2 separate regions of the Homo sapiens genome follow, and region 1 is linked to region 2. The links are contacts of gene promoters, found by promoter capture Hi-C in blood cells and fetal thymus (Javierre and others, 2016). All regions are on one chromosome and are shown on one strand. The core of a region is centred on a gene start or on the middle of the fragment in contact, and the rest is flanking DNA. Distances in the headings are between cores, read along the strand shown. Region 1 overlaps LY6E-DT (LY6E divergent transcript). Region 2 holds the start of SLURP1 (secreted LY6/PLAUR domain containing 1).

Region 1 (6,374 bases), core at 3,415-5,914, 250 kb after region 2:
TATACACGTATCATATATATACACACATATATACACGTATATATATATATGTGTGTATATATATATACGTATATATATAGACACACACACACACACACACACAACATTAGCTGGGTATGGGGGTGCATGCCTGTAATCCCAGCTACTTGGGAGGCTGAGGCAGGAGAATCGCTTGAACCTGGGAGGCGGAGTTTGCAGTGAGCCAAGATTGCGCCATTGCACTCCAGCCTGGGCAACAAGAGCGAAACTCCATCTCAGTAAATAAATAAATAAATAAATAATAGCAGTACTCAAGGTAAAATCCAGAACTTGCCGTAGTTTCTCTGCCCTCTACTGGTGAGGCCTCACCGTTTGAATTGTTTCAAAAGCCCAAGCCTGTAAGTTCACCCCACATGGCCTCTCCCATCTCAGAAGGGACACAGGGACAGCCAGTGTTCTCTAGGATTGGCAGCTCCTCTATTCTTTATCCCCCAGATCCCCCAGGGACCGGGGATGAGGACAGGCCAGCTGATTTTTCTCCTTTCCCACTTGGGATGCTGAGAGGTGAACTGGCTGCATTCCCTAGGAGAGATTTTACAAGTACATTAACACGCAAGGGATAAAGGCAGCAAAGACTGGCATGAATTCCTGATGCTTGCAGCTCACAGCTGCTCCCTGCTGGCTGCGTGTGGCCACAAGACCTCTCTCCAAGAGGGTGCAGGAGGAACCTCCTTGGCTGGACTGAACCTGGGGCTTCCTCCAGCTGCTCCCGACAAGGACAGGGCAAGAGAGGGTACTCGAGCTGGCTGTTTTCCTGCCCATGGCAAGAGTCCTCTGGTGGGCATCTTTGGCTTGAAGGCAACCTGATGGCTGGCTGAGGCTTTTTTAGAACTGTGCTGAAGTTGGAAACTCTTTCTATGCAACATCCTTCTTGGGTCCTAGCAGGCCATGGGCCAAGAAAACAGACAGCAAGGCCGGGCGCGGTGGTTCACGGCTGTAATCCCAGCACTTTCAGAGGCTGAGGTGGGCGGATCACCTGAGGTCAGGAGTTCAAGACCAGCCTGGCCAACGTGGTGAAACCCCATCTCTATTAAAAATTCAAAAATTAGCCAGGCGTGGTGGCAAGCACCTATAATTCCAGATACTCGGGAGGCTGAGGCAGGAGAATCGCTTGAACCAGGGAGGCGGAGGTTGCAGTGAGTGGAGATCGTGCCATTGCACTCCAGCCTGGGGCACAAGAGCGAGCCTTCATCTCAAAAAAAAGGGGAGGGGGAGGAAAGGGAAGGGAGAAAGCAGACAGCAAGTGGGATTTTGAGACCAGCCAGCCATGGCCTGCCTGGCAAGGGAGGGCCACCTGGAGTGGAAGGTGGGACCTGGATGGTCCCTGGCTCAAGGCAGGGGCTGGTCACGGAGGGTTCACTGGCGGTGGCCTGAGCAAGCACCCCGGGAAGGACTATGCTTTAGCCCATGTGATGGTTAAGCGGCCTGGAGGGTCTTGGGGGCAAATGCCTATAGGGACAGCCATGCGCTAGCCGTCATCAAGTCACACTAACCCTACAGGGGATAATGAGAACACCAGGAGGTGCATAAGCGTCAGGACAAGTGTGAAGGCATGGGCCCCTGCAGAGGATGGGCAAAGCTGTGGGGCAGTCAGAACACAACAGAGTGCGAGCCCAGGAAGCTCTAATGCTCAGCCAAGGCAGGTCTGTGCACCAAGGCTGGGTCCCTGGAGGTGAGACCCAGAGATCCAAGGGGTGGATATCGGGAAGTGCCTGCAGACACCCTGACCCCACAGGCAGCAGGTGCATCTGTGCCGGGGCCAGTCGCCTCCATTCTGGGACACACCCTGCCCTCCTGGCCTTGGTGGGGTGATCTTGGGTTTTATTATTACTGATGTGCTGTCTTGACCCAGTTTTGAGGCCCTAGAGGCCGGTCAGTTCCCTCCTTGAGCAGCCAGTTAAGTCCACACCCAACCACCTCCTCATTGGCCCCTCACACTCCAGGCCACTGCACATTTGTCCAAATCTGCCCCAGGGCCAAGGGCCAGACTATCAGGGACAGCCCTGTGACCCAGAGCTCAAAATCACCCAAATTAGCCAATCCACAGGGAGCCCCAGAAACCCAGCCACCCCACCTGCTGTCCACACACCAGCCACCCGGCAGCCCCAGCTGTCTGCTACCCTGTCCCCGGGTGCCTCATGCAGCCCTGCCTGGACGCCTTCCTCGTTTGGAGCTGTAAGTGACAGAGTGCTCTGCTTTTCATCTCTGGAGTGTCAGTGTGCCGTGCCCTACCTCAGAAGAACTTTCAGATCCTATATAATGGGTGTCCAGCCTGGCCTCCAGCCCCACCCCCAAGAGGGCTAGGCAGGGTGTCCTTCTGCCGTTGCCCAGGGTTGATCTGGGGCAAGGGGCCGGTGGCCAGTGCTGGTTCGTCATCTTGCCATCTATTAAACATATTCTTAGGCATTATTTTGTTGCTTTTGACTCTGTTACATGTAGAATTCATTGTTATTATTTCAATTTCTATGATAACTGGTTGTTGCCAGTACATAAAAGCAATTTTATATGTTCAATCACTTACTCAAAGCATCTTATTGGTTCTGTAGGTTATCAGATGAATGAAGCTTTTGGATCTTCTCGATGGGCATCCCTGTCTTCTGCAGGGAGGGGAGAATGTCAGCACTTCTGGCCTACCGTGCACAATCTCTACTGCATCTGCCTGCCTTCATCTGCCATGAGGATCCCCAAATGCAGGTTGAGGGGTAGCAGTGAGACAGGCATCCCTGACTTTTTCGCAGCTTTAATGCTGATCACTAATATTTCATCAATTAATATGTTATCTGTCCTTTTTGAAAAAGTAGGTGTGATTTGTAGGTGCATTATTTAAATTCCATATTTTATTTTACTTTATTTTTTTGAGACAGAATCTCACTCTGTCGCCCAGGCTGGAATGCAGTGGCGTGATCTCGGCTCACTGGAACCTCTGCCTCCCAGGTTCAAGCGATTGTCCTGCCTCAGCCTCCCGAGTAGCTGGGACTGAAGGCATGTGCTTCCACGCCCGGCTAATTTTTGTATTCTTGTATTTTTAGTAGTGATGGGTTTCATCATGTTGGCCAGGCTGGTCTCAAATTCCTGACTTCAAGTGATCTGCCCACCTTGGCCTCTCAAAGTGCTGGGATTACAGGCGTGAGCCACCACACCCGGCCCCCTTTTATTTTAAATAGAAGATTTTATGAGAAATGACTGCTAAATTTCGTCAAGTACTTTTTTCACTAATTACAACATAATTACATGATTTGTGTACTTTAGTGTACTGATGTAATGTATTATATTCTGCTTCCTAATATCAAGTCACTGTTACATGTATGCAATCAAAGCTTGACTATGGTGTGCTGTTCCTTAATAAATGACTGTGTACAAATTTATGATATTTTATTTGGATTTTTGCGTCCATTTTACAAAATAAATTGGAATATTTTTCTCATACTATATCAAAATTTGATACGAAGTTACATTAGCTATATAATATGAATTGGAAAAATTTTCACCTTTTTCTATTTTCTGGAATATTTTTTAAAATACTAGAAGAACTTGTTCCTTACCAATGAGGAAGAAGTCAGCTTTAAAACCATTTGGTGTTGGCACATTTTGCACTAACAAATGTTAAATGGACTTGCCAATTTCTTCCTTTTTTGATTTACCCAAGTTTTCCACTTATTCTGGTAATGTATTTCCTCTCAATTTTCACATTTCTTGCCATAAAATTATACATATGATATAATTCACTTAATCATTTTATTTTTTATAGTCATGTCTTTGTTGAAATATGTTCCGACGTCTTTGATACCCCTCCTTTCTAAAGGCAGAATCAGCCTTAGAGGCTCACACCCCACACATGGAATGTGGCAGAGTGACACTGTGTGACTTCAGACATGAGGCTGCAAAGAACACTGCAGCCTCCGCTGTGCTCTCTGGGATCCCTGCGTGGAGGAAGAGGCCACCCATGAGGACACTCAGCGAAGACGTGCAGAGATGACCACGTGCCAAGAATCCAAGGCCTCCCGCCAAAGGGCAGCATCTGCCTGCCGGCAGCACAGTGCACCATCTAGGAGATGGGTCCTCCAGCCCTAGCCGAGCCTTCGGACCACTTCACCCCAGACAACATCTAGCCTCACGCAGCCGGAACCACCTGTGGCGAAGGCTAAAATGACTCCATCTTGGATGCTGACCCGCCATGTGGACTTCCGATGAACCCTAGTTCTGGGTCCTTAGGTCAAAACAACCTTAATGTTATTGTAAACACAAAATCCTGCCCTTAAGCGAGTTACAGGCTGCGGTGCAGGTGGCATTCTTGCCTTCTCCTGAGGGTGGACCAGCAGGCGGCATTCTTGCTTCTTCCTGAGGGGTAGGCCAGTTGTCTTACACATCCTTCTGAAGCTCCCGCTCCCTTTCCCTCTGCTACCTAAGCCCTGGGTCCGCGGGTAGCAATGCATGGATCTCGCGGCCGCCCGCACCGTGGCTTCTGCTCCCATCGCACTGTTGAATGTTTCTTTCTGAGAAACAGGATTTGTCGGCCTTTTTCTTCAGCCTCTCAGCTCCCTCAGCCTTTGTGGGTAAGTGGCATAGACCTGCTCGCCACAGAGCGCCACCCAGCAGGCTTTTCTGAACAACCCACAGAAACTGCGATCGTAAATGCTTTTTGACGTTGTAAACCTCTAAGTTTCAGAGCAATTCTTTTAATGTGACAATAGATAACTAATGCACCAGTATTGTTTTATTTTCTCTCTCCCATTTATTTTCAGCCAGCCAGAAAAAAGCAGTCTGTTTGTCGAGCTGATCCTGTAAATCTGATGTTAGTAAAAACGGGGACCCTGCCTCCCTACTGAGACCAACCCCCATCCCCATCCTGTCCACACCCTGCACAGCTACGGCAGTGAGTTTCAATCTACGGCGGGCTTTGGAAATACTCACAGTTAAATGCCAACAATGACCACCTGTTTCCTCAGGTTGGTTTAGGAGACCGTGAAACCCTCTACTCACCTCCAATTCCCAATTAATCACACTCATGGCCGCTTGCTGTTTCTACGAACGAAAAGCCTGCATTCCAGCAGATGTGAGCGTCTCCAGAATCTCCGCTTGAGTTGCCCCAGAAACACCTAGAGCCCAGTCTCCACGCCTGCGGGGGAGCCACACTCCCCGGGCTGCTGCGGCCCCCAGGGTGCCACCTCCCTCTGCAACAGCCTTTAACAGCTCTGCAAGTTCTGTGGGGCTGTCCCACGGAGAGGTGAGGTCTGAGAAGGGAGTGGAGGCACAGGGCTCCTGCGGCCACGTCAGAAACGCCCTGCAGCTCCCACCTGACATCTTCGGAGGCTCCACGAGAGGAGACCAGCCCCATGCGGAAAAGCCCAGCACCCTGTGAGCGCCACTCTGCAGACACCATGTGTGGCGTCCAGGCAACAGCCCCGCCAGAGCTCCAGCCTCATGGGTGTCCCATCTTGGACTCACAGCCCAGTGACTTCTGAACACACTCATATGACAGACTCAGGAAAGAATTGCCCCAAAGACCCCTCCCCGAATTCCTCACCCTAAAATATGACCAAAATAAGATGGCTGTTTTCAGCTGTAAGTTGGGGATGTGTCGCACGCCGACAGAGACAGGAGCGCCCTCCTTCCAAACCATAAACCTAGCATCGCTCGACAGCACCGAAGCCACTTCCAGACACTCTGCTGAAAGGAGTTTGGGAAACGTGTTTGGCTTTCTAGTCTCTGCGGGAGAGCAAGGTGTGCCCACAGAGGGCAGAATGGATGTAGTGGGGCCGCCTCTGGACATCCCAGCCTCTGAGTCTCAACCAAGCCAGCACGCCGTCGCGGGCGAACCCATGCAGGGCTCCTTGCCGTCTCTGAGCTGGGACGTCCACAGCGCTAAGTGACTGAACGCGACATGACATGTGCACAGGAGGGCTCTGGAATGGCCACCTGTGTGTCTAATTCAAAAAGCTTTCATTTTACACACCCCTGACACAGTGCACCAAGAGCCTGGCTCCCAGGCTCACAGCACGTCCATGCATGGGGGGAGCGTGTGTACACATGCATGCATGTGATGTGCTGTGGTGTGCGTGGTGTGCCCGTGCACAAATGTGTGTGTCAGTGTGTGGGTATGATGGGCGTGCACGTTTATGTATGGTGTGTATGTGGGTGTGAGGTAGGTGTGCATGTGTGTGGTGTGTGTGGGGGTGTGAGGTAGGTGTGCATGTGTGTGGTGTGTGGGTGTGTGGTAGGTGTGCATCTGTGTGGTGTGGGTGTGTGGGTGTGATAGGTGTGCATATGTGTGGGGGTGTGTGGTAGGTGTGCATGTGTGTGGTGTGTGGGTGTGGTAGGTGTGCATGTGTGTGGTG
Region 2 (6,123 bases), core at 2,605-5,104:
GGAGGAGGCACTGTGCCCTCTGATGGCCAGGTGGACAGAGTCACGACTGCTTTGGTGGGTGTCCCCGGGGCTCACCCTAGGTCAGTTGCCTGCTCAGTCTCAGCATCCAGCCACCGCCTCTGGGCTCAGTCAGCTGACTGGCCACTGTTGTGTCCCCTCAGGGCCCAGGGACACAGATCCCCACATCTGAGGCCTTGCTGAGTGGAGTTCTACTGTGCCTGGTGTCCGGAATTCTGGGACAGCAGGACCATCGCCCACCTCATGGATAGGGAAACAGACTAGGGCAGGGAATTCCCAGTATGGCCGCCAGGGGCTCAACGAGGCAGGCCAAAGGGGCTGATTCGTCCCAGGCCCAGGCCGCCGCTCCCCGCATGACTTCCCCTCTGGACACCTGCGAGTTGGGGGCACCCTTGGGGAGGTGGAGGGTCTTGCTCCTGAGGGCGGGGAGGGACGCCCTGCGGTCTGCACACCCCTCTCCTTTAGAGATTTCTTAAAGCTGCGGAAGACTAGCGCTGGCTGGTCTGACCTCTCCGCGGTAGTGGGGTTCAGAAGGGCCTCTGCTTCCCCTCCGCGCAGTAGGGCCTAGCGGCACGGGTGGGCGCCCTTCTCCCTCCCCTCCACCGCCACCTCTTGGCGGCTGGCTGCTTCCCCGCCAGCTTTACCCACGTCCTGCGACGGTCACGGATGCGACGCCCACTCACCTCCCTAGACCCCGCGCGCCCGGGTGGTGAGCGCCTGGCCTCCGCGAGCCCCACCCCGTGGGCGCGCCCTCCCGAGGTCCCTCCCTGGCCGTGGCCTCCCCACGCATTTCCTGGGAGGGTCGCGGCGACAGGCAGGGCAGGTGGGCGTCCTCCAGGCCGGCCGAGAGGGCCAGGGCTCTCTGAACTCTGTGCTGCGGACCCCTACGGTCCAGGCGGCCCAGCTGCGCGCGCAGTGCAGGTTCCGGGCAGAGCGCACAGGGTCGCCGCGTGCTCGCGGTGCGCGCTCTGGGACGAGTCTTCCTGGCGCGGGTTCCGGGACTCGGGCGCGCGCCCTCTGCTGGCCGTGCGGGCTCAGCATCGGGGGCCCCTCGCAGGTGCCCTCCCAGGGATAGGGGCACCTGCTGAGCCTTCACCACTGCGCTCCCAAAGAGCCTGGAGGCCTCATCCCCATTGTGCCGCTGGGGACGCTGCCAGAGATGCGGCGACTTCTTGCTCCGTCCCCCTGGTGAGGCCAAGGCCCTGCCCCCTTGGCTCCAATCGAGGCCCGGGTGAGGCCCTTGGAGGTCCGGCCATGACCCAGGGGACGGGCCCTAACCGGAAGCCACGCCGCCGGCCCGGTGCTGGCCAACGGGGAGGCCCGGGGTAGCCCTTCAAGGGGGCCTCTCTGGCAGCTTTCTCTGGTCGGGGCTGCTCCCCAGGGACAGCATTTAATTCCTGGTATTTCTGGGAGGGCGTAGAGGTAGGGGGTGGGTTCTGACATCTGGGCCCTTCATAGACAGAGGTGGGCTCTCACAGGGGTCCTAGGCGACCCCCGCCACTGCCCTGGTTACTCCCGCATGCTCCTCGGGTATGCCCAGCTGGTCTGACCACAGCCTGCTGCATACCGCTCCCACCCCAGCAGGCACAGGTGCCCACAAGACCCCACGGGCGTGACCCAGCTGATGTGTGGGGCCTTAGAACCCAAGACCTAGCTGGGCAGCGCTTAGATGGTGTGCAGCCCAGGAGACACCAGGGGACTGGGGCCTGGAGAGGGGCAGTGTCCAGGGGTGGCTCAGGCCCACAGCAGCCCGTGCTCCCCGTTGGCTCTGCCCACCTGCCGACAGGGGTGACAGTGGCACAGAGCACTGTGACTGTGATGGGACAGCCAGGGCCAGGAAGAGGGGGAAGCGAGCCTGGAAGTCAGGTCTCCTGGGTCCTGAGAACCCGGGGCTCCTCCGCTAATCTCAGCTGTCCCAAGGGGACAGTGGGCAGTTGTCAGAGGAGGTGACTGAAACCGTGGAGCTGTGTGGTACCAGCAGGCCCAGGTGCACACACCCAGGAAGACCCCTTGGGCTGGGCAGGCAGAGCCAGATGTATCCACCCTTGGAGGAAAGTGGATGCCAACTCTGAGCTTCCTTCCCTCTCTAGGGTGGGAGCGATGTCTCCAGGGTTTACAGGGGAGATTCTTAGCGGGAGATGTTCCCTGGGCTAGGGTACAGGTCCTGGTCTGAGATGCCAGGCTAGTTTGCATCAGGAAAGGGGCCCAGGAGGCATTTCTTCCCCTAAGTCTCTGTTTTCCTATCTGTGAAATGGGTCACAGAGGCTCTGGGTGAGAGGGAGGAGCAGGTGCCTAGAATGTGCTGTCCTTCAGCCTGGCTCTCCTGAAGGCCAGTTCTGTAGGGTGTCAGTGCCCAGGAAGGACAAAAGTCATGTCCACTCTTGGCTTAGTTATGTTTTATAAGCGTGGGGTATGGAAGGCAGAGGGCGCCCCTGGTGTGCTTCTCTCCCCTCAGACCCCATGAGTGAGCTGTGCCACAGCAGCAGGAAGCAGGGGGAGGTGATCACAGGTGGAGCCAGGCCCCGTCAGAGAGGAGGTGCCTGAGGAGCACCTTCCGCCCTGCCGCCCTGGGTTCAGAGTTCCGAGTTGCAGAGGTCTCGGAAGCAGCAGAAGATCAGGTGGGCGGCCCCGATGCTGTCGGGGTCGGTGGCCACACAGGAGCTGGAGCAGGAGCGGGTCACCACGGGGCTCTGGTTGAAGGGGTACTCTGCAGGGTGGGCCAGTGTCAGAACCCTCACTCCCCTGCAGCGCCTGCCTGCTGCTGCACTGCTCCCAGCCGCCGTCGCCTGACCTCACCCTCCCTGTGATCCCTGTTCCCAATAGTCCACATCTGTGAAGCCACCCAGGGCCCAGCCCTCCTCTGACTGTGACCTGTTCATGAATTATTAGGCCTTGTCAGACCTCTGAAGTGCCTGCGCTGAGATGGGAGCCCGAGCCCAGAGGCTGTGGCAACACCACCCAGTGGGTCTGTGTCAGAGCTGGGGTTTGAGCCCCCCAGGGTACCCCGGCCATTAAGCCCCACCCACCTCCAGCGCCTGGTGCCCCAGGACTGGGTCTCTGAGGGGGCTGTGCCACCCTCGTGGAAGGCACCCCTGCCAAGGTGTGGCAGCCTGTTCTGCCCATCCCACCTGCTGCCTTTTGGGCCGGGAGGAGCACCAGCAAAGGAGGGAGGCACTTGGGGGAGGTGGCCCTGACTCCAGTGCACCCAGGGCTGCCGTGGGGCCTGGCCTCACCTGCCTCCACCGTCACCAGCGTGGTCATGCAGGCTGTGTCCTCTGGCTTGCAGCGGGTAATGGTCCTGCAGGAAGCACTGGTCATGGGCTCCTTGCAGGTGTAGCACTTGAGGGCCTCACCTGGGTGAGGGATGGGGGCAGAACCTCATCACCTGACCTCGGTGGCCTCATCCTGGAACCAGGAGGCAGGGGCTGAAGGAGTCTCGCTGACATCTTTCAAGGCCCCGGGCAGCCCTTCAAGGGGCCTCTCTGGCAGCTTTCTCTAACTGAGCTGAGCCACAGACTTGAATGCTGCATCCCTCCACCAAGCCTCAGTCTCCCTTCCTGCAGAGTGGAGCCGTGACCCCTGTCCCAGGGTGAAGCTGGGCTCTGGGACCCAGGAGGCTCACTGAGAATGAGGAGGGTGAGCCTCATGGAGGCCTAAGGAGGCTCTCAGCCACAAAGCACCCCCAACAGCCCCATCCCCCTAGGAGGTGGGCAGACAAGCTCAGAGGCAGGGTCCCCACCAGCCTGCGGCCCACTCACCACAGCCCATGCTCCAGGCTGCCACGAGCAGCAGCTGCACAGCCCAGCGAGAGGCCATTGCTCCGTGCTCAGAAGTGATGAGAGGTAGCCAGCCTCACATCAAGGATTTATACCCAGGCCCTTGGGCACCGGCTTCTGGGCGGTGGCAGAACCGGCCGTGTGAGTCAGGAACGTGGTAAAGGGCCCAGTGGGGAGGCAGCTGGCAGGAACATGGCAGACGGGCAGGGAGCTGGATCTGGGAGCTCTGTCTGAGGACGATGGCCAGGCCTCTGCTTGCACACCTCCAACACTGGGGAACTCACTGTTCCTCAGCCATGTCCAGTGGTCCTGGGACAGCTCTGACAGAGAAGGCCTTTCCTGCTGAGCTCAGACTGCCCCTCTGATGAGCCCCCATGTCCTGGCTGTGCCTCTGGGGTTCACATAGGCCACCCAGCCCCAGCCTGGGGGACCCTTAAGACCCAGGTTCAGTGTAGCCTCTGCCCTTGTTGCTCTAGCCCCGCCTGGCACCCCTTCCCTGCAGCCTGGCCTGCAGCCCTCTCCACAGACCTCTACCTGGTCTGTGTACACCTGATACACACCTGCAAAGTAGAAACCAGAGGTAGGAAGCAGGTGTCAGGTGAGGGTAGCATGGGCCAGCTAGACCACTCTCAGGCTGACAAGGTTGGGCCCAGGAGTGGCCCCTCATCACTGCCAGCCCCTTCCCACTAATGGCCTTTAGACCAAACCTGAGTTTCTTGATTTTAGGCGCCTGACAATAAGGTTCTGCTCACCCTCCAGCCTCCTGGCCTGACTGTGTTGTCTGCTCTTTACTGCGTGCCCCCCACGACACCCTGTTCCACACGCATGCCTGCCTATGCCATACCGCTCAATGACCACATTGCCTGGTCTCCCATCTGATGTCCCACATCTTCCCCATGCTGTGAGACCCACTAAGGTGCCCCTCTCCACAGTCCTTCCAGGTATACCAGCCTCTCTGGTTTCTCTGTCCTGTGATGTCCCAATGGGTGGTTGTATAGATGGATGAGTTGATGGATGGATGGATGGGGGATGGATGAATGGGGGATGAATAGGCGATGGATAGGGGATGGATGGATAGATGGGTGGGGGATGGATGGGTAAATGAATGGGAGATGGATGGGTGGATGCATGAGTGGATGGGTGGATGGATGGGTAGATGGATTAGTGGGGGATGAATATGGGATGGATGGATGGATGGTAAGAGATGGATAGGAAATGGGTGAAGGATGTATGGGTGGATAAGTTGGGGATGAATGGAGGATGGGTGGGGGATGGATGCATAGATGGATGGATAGGTGGATGGATGGATGGATGGGTGGATGGATGGGTAGATGGATGAGTGGGGGATGAATATGGGATGGATGGGGGATGGATGGTTGGATGGATGGGGGATGGATGGGAAATGGGTGGAGGATGGATGGGTGGATGGGTGGGGGATGAATGGAGGATGGGTTGGGGATGGTTGGGTGGATGGATGGATGGGTGGATGGATGGGTAGCTGATGAGTGGGGGATGAATATGGGATGGATGGGTGGATGGTGGGAGATGGATGGGAAATGGGTGGAGGATGTATGGGTGGATGGGTCAGGGATGAATGAAGGATGGGTGGGGGATGGATGGATAGATGGATGGATGGGTGGATGGATGGGTGGATGGATGAGTGGGGGATGAATATGGAATGGATGAGGGATGGATGGGGAATGGGTGGAGGATGTATGGGTGGATGGGTGGGGGATGAGTGGAGGATGAGTGGGGGATGGATAGATGGCTGGATGGGTAGATGGATAGATGGATGGATGGGTGGATGGATGGGGGATGGATAGGAAATGGGTGGAGGATGTATGGGTGGATGGGTAGGGGATGAATAGAGGATGGGTGGGGGATGGATGGATAGATGGATGGATGGATAGATGGATGGATGGGTAGATGGATGAGTGGGGGATGAATATGGAATGGATGGGGGATGGATTGGATGGATGGATGGGGGATGAATGGGAAATGGGTGAAGGATATATGGGTGGATGGGTGGGGGATGAGTGGAGGATGGGTGGATGGATGGGTGGATGGATGAGTGGGGGATGAATATGGGATGGATAGATGGATGGATGGGTGGATAGATGGGGGATGGATGGGAAATGGGTGGAGGATGTATGGGTGGATGGGTGGGGGATGAGTGGAGGATGAGTGTGGGATGGATAGGTGGCTGGATGGGTAGATGGATAGATGGATGGATGGGTGGATGGATGGATGGGTGGATGGATGGGTAGATGGATAAGTGGAGGATGAATATGGGATGGATGGGGGATGGATGGGGAATGGGTGGAGGATG

The links. The method cuts DNA at HindIII sites, captures the fragments that hold promoters and counts their contacts. A CHiCAGO score of 5 or more calls a contact.
Region 1: a fragment that was not itself captured here is called in contact with the fragment with the promoter of SLURP1 in region 2 in 2 of 17 cell types (total CD8 T cells and naive CD8 T cells); the score reaches 7.5 in total CD8 T cells.

What each region holds. Positions count from the first base shown.
Region 1 is chr8:142,983,921-142,990,294 of GRCh38, forward strand. The region is part of intron 1 of LY6E-DT (LY6E divergent transcript); the gene reads right to left. Among named protein-coding and RNA genes, the nearest start is that of LY6E-DT, 31 kb to the right of the region's middle. RefSeq lists an enhancer at 4,816-5,317. The HindIII fragment of the contact is 2,620 bases long and covers 3,355-5,974 here.
Region 2 is chr8:142,738,552-142,744,674 of GRCh38, forward strand. It overlaps SLURP1 (secreted LY6/PLAUR domain containing 1), which reads right to left and starts at 3,855. Exons shown (of 3, transcript NM_020427.3): 1 at 3,777-3,855; 2 at 3,252-3,371; 3 at 2,398-2,725. The coding sequence starts at 3,834. The coding sequence ends at 2,592. RefSeq lists an enhancer at 1-404 and silencers at 653-932, 973-1,052. The HindIII fragment of the contact is 7,810 bases long and covers 1-6,123 here.